5 separate regions of the Homo sapiens genome follow, and regions 1, 3, 4 and 5 are each linked to region 2. The links are contacts of gene promoters, found by promoter capture Hi-C in blood cells and fetal thymus (Javierre and others, 2016). All regions are on one chromosome and are shown on one strand. The core of a region is centred on a gene start or on the middle of the fragment in contact, and the rest is flanking DNA. Distances in the headings are between cores, read along the strand shown. Region 1 overlaps ELF4 (E74 like ETS transcription factor 4). Region 2 holds the start of ZDHHC9 (zDHHC palmitoyltransferase 9). Region 3 has its middle 17 kb from the start of ELF4. Region 4 overlaps OCRL (OCRL inositol polyphosphate-5-phosphatase). Region 5 overlaps OCRL (OCRL inositol polyphosphate-5-phosphatase).

The links. Contacts are between HindIII fragments. The CHiCAGO score rates a contact against its expected background, and 5 or more counts as called.
Region 1: a fragment that was not itself captured here is called in contact with the fragment with the promoter of ZDHHC9 in region 2 in 11 of 17 cell types (activated CD4 T cells, naive CD4 T cells, non-activated CD4 T cells and 8 more); the score reaches 12.2 in activated CD4 T cells.
Region 3: a fragment that was not itself captured here is called in contact with the fragment with the promoter of ZDHHC9 in region 2 in 9 of 17 cell types (non-activated CD4 T cells, activated CD4 T cells, neutrophils and 6 more); the score reaches 9.5 in non-activated CD4 T cells.
Region 4: a contact is called between a fragment that was not itself captured here and the fragment with the promoter of ZDHHC9 in region 2, in 6 of 17 cell types (naive B cells, neutrophils, monocytes and 3 more). The highest score is 7.1, in naive B cells.
Region 5: a fragment that was not itself captured here is called in contact with the fragment with the promoter of ZDHHC9 in region 2 in 1 of 17 cell types (neutrophils); the score reaches 7.2 in neutrophils.

Annotation. Positions count from the first base shown.
Region 1 is chrX:130,103,417-130,106,116 of GRCh38, reverse strand. The region is part of intron 1 of ELF4 (E74 like ETS transcription factor 4); the gene reads left to right. Among named protein-coding and RNA genes, the nearest start is that of ELF4, 5.7 kb to the left of the region's middle. RefSeq lists a silencer at 2,229-2,523. The HindIII fragment of the contact is 182 bases long and covers 1,325-1,506 here.
Region 2 is chrX:129,842,582-129,845,281 of GRCh38, reverse strand. ZDHHC9 (zDHHC palmitoyltransferase 9) reads left to right here and starts at 1,396. Exons shown (of 11, transcript NM_016032.4): 1 at 1,396-1,586; 2 at 1,956-2,023. The HindIII fragment of the contact is 4,624 bases long and covers 614-2,700 here.
Region 3 is chrX:130,126,151-130,128,850 of GRCh38, reverse strand. It overlaps a transcript of RAB33A not described here. Among named protein-coding and RNA genes, the nearest start is that of ELF4, 17 kb to the right of the region's middle. The HindIII fragment of the contact is 9,973 bases long and covers 1-2,700 here.
Region 4 is chrX:129,550,383-129,553,082 of GRCh38, reverse strand. The region is part of intron 4 of OCRL (OCRL inositol polyphosphate-5-phosphatase); the gene reads right to left. Among named protein-coding and RNA genes, the nearest start is that of OCRL, 11 kb to the right of the region's middle. The HindIII fragment of the contact is 2,986 bases long and covers 1-2,700 here.
Region 5 is chrX:129,569,659-129,572,358 of GRCh38, reverse strand. All of the region lies in intron 15 of OCRL (OCRL inositol polyphosphate-5-phosphatase), which reads right to left. Among named protein-coding and RNA genes, the nearest start is that of OCRL, 31 kb to the right of the region's middle. The HindIII fragment of the contact is 7,309 bases long and covers 1-2,700 here.

The DNA.
Region 1 (2,700 bases), core at 166-2,665, 260 kb before region 2:
AGGAAGAAAAGACGCCTTTCTCTCTATTCCCTGGCCACGAACTGACCTTCGAAGCCTGGATGATTGTTTGGCAAATGTGTGTCACATAAAAGACCAGGTCAGCTAGTGTGGGTGGCTCAGTGCAAACCCCTGTCTCCACTCCGGGAGATATAAACTGGCTGGCCAGCCTGCCACCCAAGCTGAGGGGATTTCGTTTGAAACCCCTCCCTTACCAGACACACACACACACACACACACACACACACACACACACACACACACAGGCCCCTGGGGAGTGGGAGAGATGGCAGGGGAGACGTAGGGCACTTAAATGACAGGAAAACTGACATGCCACTTGTGCTCATGGCAGTCTCAGGCTGGCTGGATCCCACCTTTTCCCCAGGGTTCTGGGATTTCTCTGGAAGCCCAGAGCTTCAGGTGGAGGAAAGAGATTTTCATAATTGTTCCCCACTCCACCATCTGGGAAATGAAGAATGTAGAGTTTCATGTGTTTCTGCCCAGACCGCTAAGGACTAGCCATATATTGCTTCCACTGATTCTGTGTCTCCCAAGGCTGGACATGGAGGAAGCTTGGCCCTGGTTGGGTTTAATTGGATAAAAAACTCCCGGACATCCCCCTGCCACATACACACACTCATCATTTTCCCTCTCTCACTGCCCTGCCTCCTCCCCAGCACATTTCAACACCAAAGGGACATACCAGAGGGCCCTGACTTCTTGGTTGGGAAATCATGCCCTAAGGTGAGTTTCTCGGCAAAGAGACCCCAGCCTGCTTCCAGGGTGAGGAGGAGGGTCAGGGAGCAGGGAAGGGTGTTTCATGCAGGAAGGTCTGCAAGGGAAAGTGCCAGAACATTTCTCAGAGAGGCTAACAAGAAGCAAGCTGAGCAGCTTGTAGAGGCTGAGCAAGCTTTCCCTTGAGTTGCCACCTTCTTTTCTTTTTTTAATTTGAGGCAGAGTCTTGCTCTGTCGCCCAGGCTGGAGTGCAGTGGTGTGATCTTGGCTCACTGCAACCTCCATCTCCCGGGTTCAAGCAATTCTCCTGCCTCAGCCTCCTAAGTAGCTGGGATTACAAGCACCTACCACCATGCCCAGCTAATTTTCTTTTTTTTTTGTATTTTTTAGTAAAGACGGGGTTTCACCATGTTGGCCAGCCTGGTCTCGAACCCCTGACCTCAGGTGATCCACCTGTCTTGGCCTCCCAAAGTGCTGGGATTACAGGCATGAGCCACCGCACCCAGCCGAGTTGCCACCTTCTTGATGGGTCATTTTCTTGGCCCAGTGTGGGCACTTCCTGCCTCTCAGAACACCTGACTCTCCTGAAGCTTCCTTTCCTCTTCCAGTGTGACCCAATATCCTTCCCAATACATGTTATTGTCTAGAGGAGGAAGAGCACAGGCTCTCTACATTTATATGCCAAACTTACTGGCTGTGTGACTATTTGCTGTTGAGCTAGTTACTTAACCACTCTGGGAGTCAGCGCCCATCTCACAGGGTTGGAGTGAAGCTTAAATGAGACGATGCATATAAAGCACTCAGCAGAGTGCCTGGCATATAGTACCCACCCAGTAAGTGTTCACTGCTGTTATTATTATTCCTGTGACAGTTATTATTATTGTTGTCACCATTTCCCCTTCACACACCCTTGACTTTGCCAGGCTCTAGGGACCAACTACTTCTTCGGCAATGCGGGCAGGGCATGCCACACCCATTTCTGAAACTAAGCGGGAGATTTTCCAGGTTTTTCTGCTTTTTGTTAACTCGGCCATTGCACAGGATAGGGAAAGGATGTAATAGAAGGTGTGTGTGTGTGTGTGTGTGTGTGTGTGTGTGTGTGTGTGTAATATACTGAATGGCAGGCAGTGCTGTAGTGAAGAGCAAAACTCAAATCGTTAATATTTGTACTAACATTGCCTTCTTTAGTCCTTCACCATTTTCATCTTGAGCATCATTCACTGCAGAAATAAGAGTAAGTTAGTTTCTTTGAGAGGCCTAACGTTGTACTCCTGGGAACTATTTAGCAATCATCAGATTGTTGTTATTATCCTACTGAGTGTAAAATTCTGGGAGCCAACTGGCTGACTACCACTCACTCTCACCCTTCACTAGAATAGATGATGGGTCCATTCTGGGCCAATGCCCAGAGGCCTTGAGTTGAGGCTGGGGCACTGCCTTTGCCCAGAAGAGCTCCCAGGGGACTGGGGGCCAGTGCCCTTCCAGAGGCCTCCCAGAGAGTAACTTGGAGGTTCCATTTGCTATTGACTGGATTGTGTTTGCTTGAGGAGCCTGTGACCACCCGCAGGGACAGGCAGCCTAGGATAAACTGGACCACCCCTGAGTAAAGCACTCCACTCAGTCCCTTGGTCCCCACCCCTCAGTTAGAACTGCTAGGCTTTGGGGGATGGGAGGGTGGCAATTATTCTTAACCTCCCGAAATTCCTGATGACCCGATAACAAGGAGGTATTTAGACATAGAATGAGGAGCTAATCTTTTTCCTATAATGCCCCCTGAGGATAACAGAGGCTAGTTCAGCTCTGCTAATTCTATGAGAATCTATGCACAGAAAACACCTGTCTCATTAGATGACCACTTCTAATTAGCCATTCTAATAAGTGTGCAGTGGTATCTCATTGTGATTTTAATTTGTATTTTCCTGATGATGTTTGTATTGACTGATGATGTTGAACATCTTTTCATATAGT
Region 2 (2,700 bases), core at 147-2,646:
CTTACACTTGGAAAGGAGATGCCACCTTCAACCTTTTCTCATATTTCCTCTTATATTTGGAAGGCAGGAGCCATACTGGTGAAAACAGACCTAGTGTCTTTTAAAGTCACCCTATAGTATAATACTGTGGTTCTCAATTGTTTCCCCCCTTCAATCTCAAACTTTTTTTTTTTTTTTTTTAAGACAGGGTCTCTCTCTGTCGCCCAGGCTGGAGTGCAGTGGCATGATCTTGGCTCACTGCAACCTTCACCTCCTGGGTTCAAGTGATCCTCCTGCCTCAGCCTCCCTGGTAGCTGGGACTACAGGCGAGTCCCACCGCTCCCCGCTAACTTTTGTCTTTCTAGTAGAGACGGGTTTTGCCATGTTGGCCAGGCTGGTCTTGAACTCCTGACCTCAGGTGATCCACCTGCCTCGGCCTCCCAAAGTGCTGGGATTACAGGCGTGAGCCACCGCGCCCAGCCCAATCTCAAACTTTTAATGCATGCAACTCACTCGGATCAGTAGCAGTGGCTCATGGTGGCAGTAATGCAGAGCTGGGTGGCAGAAGGAAAAAATCAATCTGGTTGGTGGGTGGGAATTCTGCCTTGGATTCTCCCCTTAATCATCATAAGCTTTCCAAACCGAATAAAAATTTACAACCTTTTTGGCAATCTTTACTTCATTACCTACCTGGAAGAATTTATGTCCTCAGTGGAGTTTCTTTAACTCCATTAATGTCAATTAGTTGTTTTAGGTGCTGCAAAATGATAATACGTTCTTGGGGACATTTATCCTTTACAACATGCTTTTTATGCTTGTTTGTGTGTTTTGATTTGAAAGACTTAGAGATGCAGGCTAGGGTGACTGGGACAGATATGGGGTCCCTGGCTACTGAATGAGACTTGGGAGGCAGATGACTTGTTTTTATGCCGATAAAGAGTAAAATCTCAAGTTGCGGTTGATTTTAAAATGCAAGCAGGGCTGGAGAGGCCCATGGCAGACCTAGTTTGGGGTGAGCACCCGGATCTGTGAGCTAGTGTTGCTTCAGCATCTCACTGTGTGTGTGTGTGCGCGCGCGTGTGTGTGTGTGCGCGCGCGCGCGCGTGTGTGTAGGCTGGTTCCACCCTTTGCTGTCCCATCGGCACTACCCTTAACCTCCGTCTCTGCGTAACTATATTAATAGAAGGCAACACTTCACATACTGGCGCTCAGACCCCAAAGAGAGGCTGGCAGTGGCTTGGCAGGTGGGCATGCAGCAGGGAGATGGGTGGAGGAGTGGGCGGAGGCATCGTCGAGTGGCGTTAGGCAAAACCAATGGCAGTTCGGGATAGGGGCGGCCGGGGCGGAGGCGCCGAGGCCGATCGGCCAATAGAGGGCGAGCAACTACTGGAGCGACCTGGTGACGTGAGGAGCGTTCCATTTGGCCAGTGGTGGGCGGTTGCCACAGCTGGTTTAGGGCCCCGACCACTGGGGCCCCTTGTCAGGAGGAGACAGCCTCCCGGCCCGGGGAGGACAAGTCGCTGCCACCTTTGGCTGCCGACGTGATTCCCTGGGACGGTCCGTTTCCTGCCGTCAGCTGCCGGCCGAGTTGGGTCTCCGTGGTTCAGGTAACGAGGGGTGGGGGCGGGGGTCTCCTGGGCTCGGCTGCAGGGTGGGCTGCCTCCCCTTCCGCGGCGCCTGGAGGCGGGGACGTCGGCACCGCCCTTCTCAACTCGGCAGCCGCCGAGCCCCTGGCCCGGGGTGACTACACGTGGCGGGGCGTGTGTGAGTGTGTACGAGCGTGTGGCTGCGTGTGCGTGTGGATGTGGCGCGCGTCCCAACCTGCCTGGGGCGGTGGTCCGCGGCGTGGCGGAGTCAGGGCGGGCCTCGAGAGGCCGCGCCCGCGGCTCGGCCCCGGACTCCGGCCTCCGGCCTCCGGCCCCCCGCTGGGGAGCCGGTCGCTGCTTCCCGACGGATTTTGATCTTTGTTCTTCCAGGCCGGCTCCCCCTTCCTGGTCTCCCTTCTCCCGCTGGGCCGGTTTATCGGGAGGAGATTGTCTTCCAGGTTAGTTTTACACAAAGGACGGGTTCTCTGCACCTCTGGGCCCCCCTCCCCTTCCCCGAACCTTCTACCTTCTCGTTTCCCTGCTCCGCTCCTAGGCTGTTTTTGGACCTTTGCCCTCTCCAGCCCGCGAGTTGGCTGTTTCTCCCTCCGTCCGTCGGGCTGCAGGCTTCCGCCTCAGTCCTGCCAGCGTGGGGCATGTGGTGTCGGTAAATAGAGGCCACAACACCACACCTGAGCGGAGGAGAAGGGTAGCAGAGGCTGAGAAACTCTGGGCCTGGGAATTCAGGATGCTGAGTAGAGATGGTACTTAGGACATGTCCCAGAAAGCGCCCTTGTGACTTTTCTTAGCTGCTGCCATTCCCCACCCCCCAACCAGCCATCAGCAGTCACCAACCATTCCAGAATCTCTCCTGCTTAAGTCAGCCTTTCACCTACAGGTCTCTGATGTGGTTTCATTAAGATTCTCACAAATGTTAGGCTAGACCAGCCAGATTGTTTCATTTCCCGGACTCAGGAAGTTGCAGAGGGTTTGATGAGGGGAAATCTGTTTTGTGTAAATACAATGCACGTATGTGCACAGAGCGTCCAGAACCTCCTGGCCCTGCCAGAGGGTGACTTGTTCCCTGCTGTGATTCATATTCGAGTGGCTAATTGAAGAAAGAAGGTGAAGTGGAGGA
Region 3 (2,700 bases), core at 135-2,634, 280 kb before region 2:
CACTTACTACAAATCTGAGTTCAGAGACCTGGTGCTTCACAGTTAAACCTGGAGACGGACTCATGGAAGGACCATCATCTCTTGACTCTTCTGCCTGCTGTCCTCATGCCAGACATCTGTCCTCTCTTAAGCTCCTTTTCTCTGAAATACGCTTATGGGCATACCTCACTTTACAGATTATTTCCTGGGAATACGATTCAAAGTTTCACAAGTCAACTCATTGTTTGGCATTTTAGATTGCTTAACTTTTAAAAATCAAATCTTATTATTATTATTTTGAGATGGAGTTTTGCTCTTGTTGCCCAGGCTGGAGTGCAATGGTGCGACCTAGGCTCATCACAACCTCTACCTCCCGGATTCAAGTGATTCTGCTGCCTCAGCCTCCCAAATAGCTGGGATTACAGGCATGCGCCACCACGCCTGGCTAATTTTGTATTTTTAGTAGAGATGGGGTTTCTCCATGATGGTCAGGCTGGTCTCAAACTCCCTATCTCAGGTTATCTGCCCGCCTCGGCCTCCCAAAGTGCTGGGGTTACAGGTGTGAGTCACCGCGCCCGGCCTAAAAACATCAAATCTTATTTAAGAGGAATTTGTTACTACTTTCAAGAGTCCTGTTGTTAAACTCCATGTATATAAAGAGAAAATTATTACCAGTCTGGATTTTTTTTAAATATTGGGTTTGATTAAGGGCAGTTTCAGCTTCAACCAAATCCCTTCTGAACACTGGGAGAACAGGCCAAATCTCCACCGTAAGAATTTGCAGTACAGGTATACCGAACAATACTATATAGATACAGGTTTACTCAAATGTGATCATATCCAAATGATATATCCAAATCTATATGTAGAAAACTCATCTAGGGTTGCGCACAGTGGCTCACGCCTGTAATCCCAGCACTTGGGGAGGCCAAGGCAGGTAGATCACCTGAGGTCAGGAGTTCGAGACCATCCTGGCCAACATGGTAAAACCCCATCTCTACTAAAAATACAAAAATTCGCCAGGCATGGTGGCATGCACCTGTAGTCCCAGCTACTCAGGAGGCTGAGACAGGAGAATTGCTTGAACCTGGGAGGCGGAGGTTACAGTGAGCCAAGATCACACCACTGCACTCCAGCCTGGGCAACACAGCAATATTCCATCTCAAAAAAAAAAAAAAAAGGAAAACTCATCTAGTATCCTGTGACATCGAAATTATTATACAGCAGTAATTGCTGCTTACAGAGATGGGGGTAAGACTAAGATCCTAGTGTTCCACAAATCATTAAGAAAAGATCAAATTGTGATTTGTCTTGCTTTAGTGTTGTATACAGTTTTGTCAAATTCTTTGACAGTAGTTATCCTTGTATAGTATGTCATTGTAGTTCAGTGGATTGAAATTAAATGATCTATTCATCTAATCAGTGTTCATTGGGTGCCTCCTGTGAGCCAGGTAGATGTCAGAATAGAAACATAGATAAAACATAGCCACTGCTTTTAAGGACCTCCTGGTGTCCGTGAGGAATGCAGACATGTGGATGCAGAACTCCAATACAATGAGCTACGTCCACAGAAGGACACAAAAAGTACTGTGGCCATGCCAAGAATGGAGAGATCAGCCACAGCAGCCATCCTGAGTCAACCACTGCTATTAGACCACTTCCTAAAGCCACCACTTGGTCCATGTCCCCTCCCTGTTTAAAAATGTACAGTGATTCCCTGTCACCAACCACATCAAGTTCAAAGTCTCCTGTAGTACTAAGCCCACTCTGTTTGGCTGACTTTCCGCCTGACTTTTAATATGGACATACACACACACACACACACACACACACACCTGGTTTATTGCCACCTTTAAACTTGTGTTCATGCTCTTCACATCCGGAACGCCATCCCTCCTCCCTTTATCTATCCAAATCCTACTCATCTTTCAAGGCCTACATCAAGTCCTGCCTTGGTGGCATGGTACCAGTTGGACTAGTGCCCATGCATGATTTCTCTCTGAACTCCAGTTGCACTTAGCACCTTTGAGTGTAATTGTTCTTTAAGTCATTCTAAAGGAATTGTCACCTGTCCCAGAGCAGAGCCCATGTTTTCTTTTCAGGATGGGGACCATATTGCTGCACCCTGGTGAAGTGCTGAGCAAGTCCTTGGTTGATTGGCTGGATGATGCTAGATAACAGGGCTGACTGTAAAAATGCACCTCTGTCTTGTAACCTCTGATCTCTGTAATTCAGGTTGTTTATGGGAGGATGTTCAGATCATCACCACTTCACTCAGCTGTCACAACTTGCCACTTACCCAGGATGCATTTAATCTGCCCAAGCCCCTGAGGATCCTGGGGTCCAAATTCTTTCTTTCTTTTCTTTTTTTTTTTCTTTTTGAGATGGAGTCTCGCTCTGTTGCCCAGGCTGGAGTGCAGTGGGTGATCTCAGCTCACTGCAACCTCCACCTCCTGGGTTCAAGCGATTCTCCTGCCTCAGCCTCCCGGGTAGCTGGGATTACAAGCACACGCCACCACACCCGGCTAATTTTTGTATTTTTAGTAGAGATGGGGTTTCGCCACGTTGGCCAGGCTGGTCTCGAACTCCTGACCTCAGGTGATCTGTCTTGCCTCGGCCTCCCAAAGTGCTGAGATTACAGGCATGAGCCACTGGCCTCTAGGGTCTGATTTCTGACTCCACAGACAAGCAGTGCCAGTCGAGGTTTGGCCCTCAATAGCT
Region 4 (2,700 bases), core at 146-2,645, 290 kb after region 2:
CTCAAGTTCAAACATAAATCTTTTTTCTCATTCTATACCAGTATTGTCCAATGGGACTTTCTGTGACTATGGGCATGCTCTAAACCGTGCTGTCCAATATGGTAGCTAACAATTTGATATGTGACTACTGCAACTGAGGGACTGAATTTCTCATTTTATTTCTAATTATTTTAAATAGGCACATGTAGCCAGTGGCTACTGTATTGGATAGCACAGTCCACACACAATCACATCATCTCTTATGATTTTGAATATCATCTACGTGCTAGTGACCCAGATGACTTTCTTCTGAGATTCAGATGCATACATTCACTTGCCAATTTATCATCTACACTCAGGTGTCTCAAAAAAAATCTCAGCCGGGTGAGGTGGCTCATGCCTGTTAATCCCAGCACTTTGGAAGGCCGAGGTGGGCAGATCACCTGAGGTCAGGAGTTCCAGACCAGCCTGGCCAATAAGGCAAAACCCCATCTCTACTGAAAGTACAAAAATCAGCTGGGCGTGGTGGCGGGTGCCTGTAATCCCAGCTACTCAGGAGGCTGAGGCAGGGGAATAGCTTCAACCCGGGAGGCAGAGGTTGCAGTGAGCTGAGATCGCGCCACTGCCCTCCAGCCTGGGCGATAAGACCGAGGCTCCATCTCAAAAAACAAAAAAAAAATCTCAAACTAAACATGACTAAAACTAAATTAATGACCCTTCCCCCTTGAGGAAAACTCATTCTTTGTGCAGTGTTCTTATTTCTGCAAATGGTACCATCATCCACAGTCATGTCAGAAACCCGAGATTCATCCTTGACACTTCCTCTCACCCCTTACACCCAAAACAATTCCTATGGATTTTACCTCCAAAAACATCTATCAAGTCTGACTGCTTCTCTTCATTACTAATGCCACCACACTCTCTAGCTTACACTATGGAAACAGCCTCCTAACTGGTCTCTCTGCTTCCATGCAAATGATGACACCCCAGCATAAAATCCTTCATACGATTCTCATTTTTGAAATCTCAAAATTCAGATTTAAGACAAGGCTTACAAGATCCTGCCAGATCTGCCCCCTAGCCTGTTTTTCTTACCTTGGTGCCCAAGACCTGTTTTAGGCACCCTGGTCTTCTATCACTTCAAAGAAAAGTGTCAAGCTACTTCCCAGCCTGGAGCCTTGTGATTCCCTTTACCTGGTAAATTCTTCTCTCTCCCATCTTAACCTGCCTCTTACTTAGCCCCTCTGGTCTCAATTTAAATGTCAATTCTTCAAAGAGGTCTTCCCTGACCACCCTCCTAATATACTTACTCTTCTCATAAACTCTTAGTACTTTTCCTCAAGAGCATTTATTAAAACTACAATTATCTGGGCCAGGCACGGTGGCTCACGCCTGTAATCCCAGCACTTTGGGAGGCCAAGGCGGGCAGATCACGAGGTCAAGAGATTGAGACCATCCTGGCTAACATGGTGAAATCCTGTCTTCACTAAAAACACAAAAAATTAGCCAGGCATGGTGGCAGGTGCCTGTAGTCCCAGCTACTCGGGAGGCTGAGACAGGAGAATGGTGTGAACCTGGAAGGCGGAGCTTGCAGTGAGCCAAGATGGCACCGCTGCACTCCAGCCTGGATGACAGAGCAAGACTCCATCTCAAAAAAACAAACAAAAAAAACTACAATTATCTATATCTTATCAGTTTAAAGTCTGTTTCCTATATTAAAATCCTTAAAGTATCATGACTGTACTGCTTTCTGCTATATCCCTAGAGCCTAGTGTAGTTCCTGGCACATAAAAAATAGTCATATTTTTATAGAATGAATGATTGAATTATAGGTATCTGTGTGACACTAGTACTGAATTGCACAGAAGCAAGAACCAAAGTAGGAGCAGCAACTTTATCTTTGTCGTTCTGTACTGATTCTGCACTTACAAAAGTGCCTGAGAAATAGAAGGCACTCAACAAATATTTGTTGAATAATGGATAAACAAGGGACAGTTTAATTTTAGGAAATTAGTACAATACAGTGTACCAATTGGTCAAATAAGGAAGAATAAAATCATCTCCATAAATACCAAAAAGACATTTGCTAAAATTCAGTATACATTCATAATTTTAAAAAACACAAACTTGAAATAAATGCAGTTTCTTAATTAAAAAAAAAAAAAACCCTGTCAAATCAACAAGCAATAATGTCATTAACAGTGAAATACCACTTGAGGCATTCTCACTGAAATCAGGAGCCAAACAAGAAACATCATCATTTACCACTGGTCCCAAAATTCTCACTGGTATAGTGTACAACGATAGTAGCTACTAGAAAAGAGACAAAATTATTATTTATAGATATTAAGGTTAGCTACCAAAATGAAAAAACAAAATGAAAAGCAAAAAAGATTAAAAATAAATTTCAATGAAGCAACTGGATAAAAGATAAATATCCACAACTCAACAGCTATTCTGTATACTAGTAATAAACAATTAGAAGGACATAGAAAAAACCTCCACTCGCAATAGCAGCAAATAAAATCCACCACGAAATACTTAACCTAAAAACTATATATATTAAGAAACTATAAAATTTTATTGAAAGATATAAAAGAGGACCTGAAAAAAACAGATATATCATGTTCCTTGACAATGACTTAATTTTATAAAGAAGTTAATTTAATAAAATTTGGCACAGACCTATGGTGAAATATTTGGTTTTTAAAAAGCATATTA
Region 5 (2,700 bases), core at 176-2,675, 270 kb after region 2:
TACTGACAAAATTAGGAATTTGAAAAAAAGTACAATGAGCTAGGTCTTTATGTAATAAGATGGGAGGTTCTCCAAGACACACTGCTGAGTTAAAAAAAAAAATCAAGTTGCAGACCAACACATACATATAAGACCGTTTATGATATAGAGACACACACAAATCAGTATTTTGTCTATGAGTGAACAAAAAAGCATATACAAAGGTCTAGAACTGCACTGTCCAGTACAATAGTGACTAGCCACATAGGGAATTTGAATTTAAATTACTTTAAATTAAATTAAATTAGAAGTTCAGTTCTCAGTTGCACTAGCCACACTTCAAGTACTCAATAGCCCCCTGCTGCTAGAAGCCACTGGACTGGACAGCACAGATACAGGACATTTCCATCATCACAGAAAGCTCTATTGGACAGCACTGGTCTAGAAAGATATAAACTCCTAAGGGTAGTGGCCTGGCTGGGGAATGGGGGTTTAGGCAAAGTTGGGAGTAGGAGACAGAACAGGGATTGAAGAACTTCTGCCTTATCTGTCAATTCTGCTTAAATTTCCTTTTAATTTTTTTAAAAGCACTTGTCATTGCTGTATAATTTAAAAATCATTAAAAACTCAAAAGGCATATCTTTATTAAAGATATACATAAATACACAGGAAGCCTGAAAAAAAATGTAAATATCCCACTAGAAGCTCTGCATTAATGTGTATGGAGTATTAAAAACATCCCAAGGTTGGCTGCGAGCGGTGGCTCATGCCTGTAATCTCAGCACTTTGGGAGGCTGAGGCGGGTGGACCACAAGGTCAGGAGATCGAGATCATCCTGGCTAACATGGTGAAACCCCGTCTCTACTAAAAATACAAAAAATTAGCTGGGCGGGAGGCTGAGGCAAGAGAATGGCGTGAACCCAGGAGGCGGAGCTTGCAGTGAGCCAAGATCGTGCCACTGCACTCCAACCTGGGTGACAGAGCGAGACTCTGTCTCAAAAAAAAAAAAAAAAAAACCAAAAAACAAAAAACAAAAACAAACAAAAAAATCTGAAGGTTTTGAAAAGAAATGTAAACAAAAAAGCCAGGCATACCTGATCTAACCAAAGAGGTTAGTGTTTGAGGAAAGATACCCTCTCAAAATGGATTAAGAGAATTCAAATGAAGAAAAAGGGGCAGCCTGCAAGTACAAACTAGAAATTAGATGGGCTAAAAGAAGTTATCTAAAGGTATATTTCATCAAGTTCTATAGAATTATAGAGGTATTGTGGGGTAGTAGAAAGAGCACAGAGTTGGGAGTTAAGCCAACTTAAGATTGGAATCTCAGCTCTCCTCCTAGTTGAATGCTCTTAAATAAGTTATTTCAACTTGCTGTTCTCCATCTGCTCATCTGTTAAATGGGAAATACAGTTGTCCCTTGAGATCTGTGGGGGATTGATTCTGGCATGGCCTGTGTATAATCAAATTCACGCATACTCAAGTCCCACAGTTGGCCCTCCTTATACGTGGGTTTCACATCCTGTGAATACTGTATTTTCCATCTGCATTTGGTTGAAAATATCTGGATATAAGTGGATCTGTGTAGTTCAAACCCATGTTGTTGAAGGATCAACTGTATTTAACTCAAAGCGTTGTTGTGAGGAGTAAATGAGATGTGTGCAAATTGCCTCACATAGTCCCTGCCACACAGCCACTAGCTGCTATCTGAGGAACAGTTACTATTATTAATGATTATTATTTTAAAATTTCAAAATGGACAAAAGTAAAGTCATGATTGTCTTGATAAAATTTAAAATCTATTCTAAGACCAATAAATAATTCTGATCTTAAATGAAAAGCCCCAAAGTCTTTCTTCCTTAAAACAGGAGCAGGATAAAACAGGTTGGTGATATCTATCTCAGAAGCCCCCTAAATCAACACACACACAGAGGAAAGAAACCTATCCCATTATGCTCTTCACATGTCCGAACTCATTAATCTTCATGAGTATGTACCAATATTACCCACGCTTAATAGAGGAGGAAACTGAGGCATAAATATGTTACATAAATTGTCCATGGTTACACAGTTAGAAAGTGGTTGAACTCGGATGCAAATCCCAGAAGTCTACTACAAAGTCCATTCTACTAAGCACTGCACTATATACATTCTGACAGATTATAGGGCTGTAGATCTGAAAAATCCACAAGAAATAACCTAAATGTACTGGCTGTAACAAATTAAATCAGCATGATTACAAGATATGACCTACATACCAATAACACACAGTTTAAAAATACAATGGGAAAAAAACTTTACTCACAATACAGACAGAAAATTAAATAACTGGCCATTAATGCAGCCCAGGATAGAACAGAGTTAAAAAAAAATTCGCTGGGCACGGTGGCTCACGCCTGTAATCCCAGCACTCTGGGAGGCTGAGGCAGGGGCATCGCTTGAACCCGGGAAGAGGAGGTTGCAGTGAGCCAAGATCACACCACTGCACTCCAGCCCGGAGGATAGGGCAAGACTCCGTCTCAAAAAAAAAAAAAAAAAAAAAGAAAAAATAAGTGTAGGGATGACACTATATCCCTTAAGACAATATACAGAGTTGGCTGTATTCTGATCAGTCTGTGCCTTTGCTCCTGCTGTCTCTACCCTTCCACCCAGAATCTCCCTCCTGGTGTTTCCCTTCTTTACTATCTGATAAAACTTAGCTTTTAACTCTTCATTATGCATACC